Regions from separate parts of the Homo sapiens genome. Here region 1 is linked to region 2. Evidence: promoter capture Hi-C in human tissues and cell types (Jung and others, 2019). All regions are on one chromosome and are shown on one strand. The core of a region is centred on a gene start or on the middle of the fragment in contact, and the rest is flanking DNA. Distances in the headings are between cores, read along the strand shown. Region 1 overlaps APCDD1L (APC down-regulated 1 like). Region 2 holds the start of APCDD1L (APC down-regulated 1 like).

Region 1 (3,285 bases), core at 155-2,654, 40 kb after region 2:
GTTTCAAAGGGCTTCGAGGCTACACAAGAAAGCTTGGATATTGAACCAAGTGCACTGGGAAATCATTGAAGTTGTTGGCCATTGTTTAAATTTCCATCAAGACACTTGGGATGGTTTGAAGTTCTACTCTGATGTGAGTCTATTTGATTAATGTCAGTCTCTCCAGGAGAACAGGAATTCTGACCATCATGTGCAGCCATATAGACCCAGAGTCCATTTCATTTCCAGGCATACAACAGGCATTCAATAAGTATTTGGGGCAGGGCGCAGTGGCTCACGCCTGTAATCCCAGAACTTTGGGAAGCCAAGGTGGGTGGATCACGAGGTCAGGAGATCAAGATCATCCTGGCTAACATGGTGAAACCCTGTCTCTACTAAAAATACAAAAATTAGCAGGGCATGGTGGCATGCGCCTGTAGTCCCAGCTACTCAGGAGGCTGAGGCAGGAGAATTGCTTGAACCTGGGAGGCAGAGGTTGTAGTGAGCCGAGATTGCACCACTGCACTCCAGCCTGGGCGACAGAGCAAGACTCCGTCTCAAAATAAATAAATAAATAAAAATAAGTGTTTGTGTTGGGGAGAAGAAATGAATGAATGAATGATAGTTGGGTCACCTGGGGGACCTCAATTTTGGATGGCCCTTGTTATCTGCTGTGGGTTGAATGTAACCCCCCAAAAAAGATATGTTCGAGTCCTAACCCCCAGTACCTGGGAATAGGACCTTATTTGGATATAGGGTCTTTGCAGATGTAATCAAGTTAGGATGAAGTCACACTGGATTAGGATTAGGGTGGGCTCTAATCCAGGGATTGGTGCCTTTATAAAAGAAAGGAGAGGGAGATTTGGACACAGGTGCAGACAGAGGAAACACACAAGTAGGGATGAAGGCCATGGGAAGATGGGGGTAGAGACCAGCGTGATGCAGCCCCAAGCCAAGGGACACCTGGAGCCACCAGGTGCTGGGAGAGGCCCTACCCACACCTTGATTTCAAACTTCAGACTTGCAGACTCCAGACTGGGAAAGGATCGACTCCTGTTGCTTCAGCCACTCAGCGTGTGGTCTTTGTCGTGGCAGCCCTGAGATGCCCAGATGCTCTCCTTTCGCGTGCCTCAGGTGAGGTGACGAGTTCACCTTGAGCTGCTCCTCCCTCCGTCTTCCGTGCACCACCCTCAGGCCATTTACCACACCCACGAGTCCCTTGTACATCTCCTTATAAAATATGATTTTATTAAAATATTAAAAGAAAATAATTAAAATACCAAATATTTTAATATCAAGTTCAGATCAATCACCTTTTAAAACTCAGTCCTCAGAAAAACGGGCCATGCAAGTACAAGGCTGTTATGATAACTACCGCCACTTTTAACACCCTCTAAAACCGACGCGTGACTGTTGGAATACGAAGTGCTCGCTTCGCGCCTGAAATCACCTCGCACCCCACCCTGTGTTCGTTCGTGCCTTGCTTCGAGAACCTCAGAACAAGCAGATTACAGGAGAAAAAAGTACTTTTCTTTTGCTTTTTACCCCCAGAAGAAAGGTACCTGAAAAGCTGATATTTCTCCCTCTGCTCTGACTACAAAACTCACATCTTTTCTCCACCCTCTTCTCTCTTTGATCCATACCTGCGTTTTTCATGATCTTTGAAGAAAACATAAATTGTGGCCCCAGGAGTGAAGCCTCTCTAGGCCTCCACTGTTCATCTGCAAACTGGAATAACCACACCCATCTAGGAGAATTGCTGGGGAAGGGAGGTAAGAGAAGGGCACAGAGTGTGGGATTCCATCTTTATGAAATATCCAGAATAGGCAAATCCACAGAGACAGAAAGCGGAGTCATTGTTGCCGAGATCTAAGAGGAGAGGGGAGCGGGAGTGACTGCTGATGGGCACAGGGTCCCCTTTTGAGGTGATGACAACATTCTGGAATGAGATCGTGTTGGTGTTTGCACGGTATTGTGAATGTCCTAATGCCACCAAATTGTTCACTTTAAAATGGTTAAAACGGTGCCTGTTATTTTTTGTTTTGTTTTGTTTTGTTTTGTTTGAGACTGAGTCTCACTCTTGTCACCCAGTCTGGAGTGCAATGACATGATCTTGGCCCACTGCAACCTCTGCCTCCTGGGTTCAAGCGATTCTTCTGCCTCAGCCTCCCGAATAGCTGGGATTACAGGTGCGCGCCACCATGCCCAGCTAGTTTTTGTACTTTTAGTATAAACAGGGTTTCACCATGTTGGCCAGGCTGGTCACAAGCTCCTGACCTCAGGTGATCCGCCCACCTCGGCCTCCCAAAGTGCTGGGATTACAGGTGTGAGCCACCGTGCCCAGCCAAGATGGTACCTTTTATGTTAGGTGTATTTTACTAGGTGTGTTGTTGTGTTTTATTTAGCTAAGAAGCATCTGTCTGTGGAGGAGTGGCAATGGCCAAGTCCCTCCACCCCTCTGAACCACAGTTTCCTCATCAGCAAAATGGGTGCATTGACAGAACCCATGTCACGGGTGGTTGTGTCGATTATACCTGTCAATCCTTTGGGCTCTGCCAAGGTACTGACACGCTGCCGCTGTGAGGACTCAAGGTCATGATGCAGATGAAGCACCTGGCCTTGGGCCTCCCAGAATGTGTGCTCAGGAGACGCTGGGCACCATTTGATGATCTCAAGACAATCTTAGCCAAGTGCCCACACTTCTGGGTGTGCTCAGTGAGTGTCCTTTCCCCGGAAGGCCCCAGGCAGGTCCATATGGTATTTGTTCATGAGGCCTGTTTCTGGTGCTCTGATTCAGGATAACACATCGGCCTCAAGCAGGTCATATTTTAAGCTCCGGTAGCCTGGTCTGAGCAATTGGGAACTCTAGATTTAATTCTGCAGGTAATTTGAACAATGCTATCTAATTTCAAATGTCCCTGCTCTTATGAATGCAAAAACAGCATAATTTTTAATTAGTGGGTAAACAGTAAATAATGAATGACAGTAAGTGGACACCACTGTTAATTAAAAATCCATGGTTGATAAAAGTCAATTTGGTCCATGCATTTAACTCCGTCTATCACTTCCCTGCAAAAAGTTGTGTAACCCAACCCACCGCACCATCTGCTTTCAGCTGTTATTTCTTTAGTTAAGACTTTTTTGGAGGAAGAGAAGGGGTGGGGGGGGAAGCAAAGAAAATCCAACATCTACCCCAAGAGCTATGTTGGAGAAAATGTCATGGAATCATTTATAATTGGTTAATTTCGTTTTTGCAACCTTGAAGTTGAGACTTCACGCATGACCAAGAGGCCACGTGATGCTCCT
Region 2 (3,070 bases), core at 335-2,834:
CCCAGGTTCAAGTGATTCTCCTGCCTCAGCCTCTGGAGTAGCTAGGATTACTGACGCCCGCCACCACGCCCAGCTAATTTTTGTATTTTTAGTAGAGCCGGGGTTTCACCATGTTGGCCAGGCTGCTCTTAAACTCCTGACCTCAGGTGACCCACCCGTCTGGCTCTCCCAAAGAGCTGGGATTACAGGTGTGTGCCACGGCACCCGGCCTTAGCATGTAGTTTTTAAACTACCCATAATTGTAAATTTTGTACATTGAAAGACCCATAATTGCCACAAATAATCACAATTATGCAAGTATAAATAATCACCCTGCACAACTCTCCTCTTGCCCACAAAGTTATCCCTTTCATGAGAATTTAATATGTGACAATGGCCATTGTCTGCCAGGGAAAGCTCATACCGATTTCAGTTTCAGCAAGGCCACCTCGAGTCTCATAGAAACCAGAAAAAAAAAATGTCATTTTCAGGAAGCAAATTGATCGTTTTCCTCACATTTCCATTTGCGTTAAGATCATGGTGTGGCCTTGCTCTGGACTTTTTCCTATTCCCTGTTGCCTCTGGAGAGGAGGAAAGCTAAGGATGGCTGGTGGGCCCACATCGGGGGTCCCTGGGTGGATTGAAGGGCTCTTGTGGCTCCTGGAAGCCTCGCCCAAGTTTCTGGTAAGAAATCAAAAGGTGAGGTGGTGTCCCCTGTTCCCCTGTGGGATGATCAGCCCACAAAAGTGGGACAAATGAGTCTATAAAATGCTTCAGAGGGGCAGGTGGACTGCTCACTCGTGAGTCCCGGGAAACAGGCCTGGCCCAGTTCTCCAAACCTTTCCCCAGGGAGACCGCATCTCTGTCTTCTCTCTTCTTCTCTCTTCTCTCTTGTTCTCTCTTCTCTCTCTTCTCTCTTCTCTCTCCCCCTCCCTCCTCCTTCCTGGTTCTCTTTTTTCTGTTGATTTCACTCCCTCCTTTCTTTTCCCTTTCTCTTTCCTCCCCTTTCTCTCTCTTTCTCTGCCTGTTTCCCCTTTCCTCACTTTCATTTCTCTTTCTGTCTCTTTCTTTCTCTCCCTCTCTCAGGTCTCTCTTCTCTGTCTCTCTTCATCCTCAGTTTTCCCCTCTCTCCCCTCTTACTTTCTTTCCCTTTTTCCTTTTTCTTTCCATCTTCTTCCTCTCCCTCTCTGGGTTCGTGGCAACACAAGGAAACCCGCACATCCCCAGCCCGCAGCCTCGCCCCCTCGGTCCCACTGCAGTTACCCGGTGATCCATGCAGGTGGGAACAATCCAGTTAACTTTTCCCATCCGAGTGATTCTCTTTCTCTTCTTCATTCATAAATGCCATAACTCTCCCGGTCCTCCTTTCCAAGGCTCGTGCACTTGATTTCAAGGCTTGCCTGCCACCCAGGGTGCCACCAGAGTCCCAGTGCCTGGGTTGGGGGCTGGAGCGCACCCTTTGGGATCCCCCAGCCTGTCCTCCGCCTCACGGCTGCCTCGCTTCTGAGCTGCCACCCTCAGCTGACTCACTCAGATGAGATTTGGGAGGGAGGGGGGCAGGAGGAGGAGTTGCGAGAAGGAGGAAAACCCGCCTGGTCGGGTCCACACTTTGCCTAGATGCGTTTGGGTGTGGTGGGGAGCGGGTGACGGCCTCATTTACAGACAGAGGCCGGGGCTGGCTTCTAGGCGACCGGGTTGGCCACTTTCACTGCGCTTCTGGGTTTGCTGGGATCCAAGTTGACGCGACTTTTCCAGGAGTAGCTGGAAGACCTGAATAGAAACTTCAGGGGTCCCAGGACTGGCGGGGCTTAGAGGAACTCCCCGCCCCGCTTGCCCTTCCAGGGAACGGCCTGGCTAGGGGTGCGCTTTGACGCAAGGAGCGCATCGCTCTGCCTTGGCCGGGACCAGAGCTTGGGGGAGGCCTCCTTGCCCACTGCGAAGACTTTGGGGAAGGCGACGGCCAGGGGACGGACATCTGGGGGAGGGCTGGGGGTCTGAATGGCAGGAGCTGCACCAGGGGGCTGTGCGCGCTGCGCGGGTGTGCGCGCCTCGCCGGGGGCTGTCTCCACCTCTTCTGGCAAGTTGGACCTATGAGTGCGCAGCTCCGCTTACAACTATCAACAGCCGGGAAGGCTGAGCGCGTGTGAGCGCCGAGGGGGGCGCAGGACCCTCGCAACTTCTTCGCAGGACTCCAGCCTGGCCGCCGGCGCCCGCAGCCGTCCGAGAGCCCTGCGCCCGCGCCTCCCCTTGCGCACCGTGGCAGCGCCCGGCGGGCGGTCCTGCCAGCCCCGACGGGATGCCCGCAGCCATGCTCCCCTACGCTTGCGTCCTGGTGCTTTTGGGAGGTAGGTGCCACCCTCCCCCACCCGGCAAACTGGCTGAGCTCGGAAGGGAGGGAGCTCGCCGTCTAATGTCCCCTAAGGGCCCTTGGGGACTACGGCCCTGGGTCGGCCCACGCGGCTGCTATGCTGCGCCCTGCGCGCCTTTCTCCAGTCTCACCTGGCCGGCACCTGCGCGCCTCCAGGAGCTTCCTGGGGCCTGCGGGAGGGAGTCGCGTCACCTCGCAATATGAGAGCCGCTGCACTCTCTGCGCCAGTCGGGGCCTGGCCTGTAGGTACCCAGAGCTGCCCTTTGTGCCGGGCCCAGTGGGACCGGGGCCTCCAAGAAGATGCAGGAGGATCCCAGGCCCACTGAGACCCCCATGGTGCGGGACAAGCCCGGCTATTCAGACCAAGGTTACTGGGGTTGTTTTTGCCCACGGAATCCTGACCTGTGCGGGGTCGGGGCTTCTTCCTGCAGCAGGACTCGGGGAGAAGCTAGGGAGCGCGCAGTGACCCCAGGCTCGAGTTGTGCCCAGCAGGCCTGACAAAGGGGACCAAGGGGCTTCAGGAACCCCTGGTAGAGTAGTCAATGCCTTCTCCAGGACTAAGGGGTTCCCTGGTGGCTCTTCGTGGGGGTGGGGAGTAGGGTAGACAAAACTGTACAAAGGCCAGCTGACTGGAGTGTGCCATCACAGGGGCCCAGTCACCACTGACAAAAATGACAGTAACCACAGTTGAAGTGTGCCCAGCTGGGGGCTCATCCCCAAGCA

What was found. Contacts are between HindIII fragments. The study calls those that stand out against the background at their distance.
Region 1: a fragment that was not itself captured here is called in contact with the fragment with the promoter of APCDD1L in region 2 in 1 of the 25 tissues and cell types used here (ovary).

Annotation. Positions count from the first base shown.
Region 1 is chr20:58,473,462-58,476,746 of GRCh38, reverse strand. The region is part of intron 1 of APCDD1L (APC down-regulated 1 like); the gene reads left to right. Among named protein-coding and RNA genes, the nearest start is that of APCDD1L-DT, 40 kb to the left of the region's middle. The HindIII fragment of the contact is 5,723 bases long and covers 1-3,285 here.
Region 2 is chr20:58,513,913-58,516,982 of GRCh38, reverse strand. It overlaps APCDD1L (APC down-regulated 1 like), which reads left to right and starts at 1,584. Exons shown (of 4, transcript NM_153360.3): 1 at 1,584-2,324. The coding sequence starts at 2,276. It overlaps APCDD1L-DT (APCDD1L divergent transcript), which reads right to left and starts at 1,604. Exons shown (of 7, transcript NR_034147.1): 1 at 1,243-1,604. RefSeq lists an enhancer at 1,983-2,981. The HindIII fragment of the contact is 21,415 bases long and covers 1-3,070 here.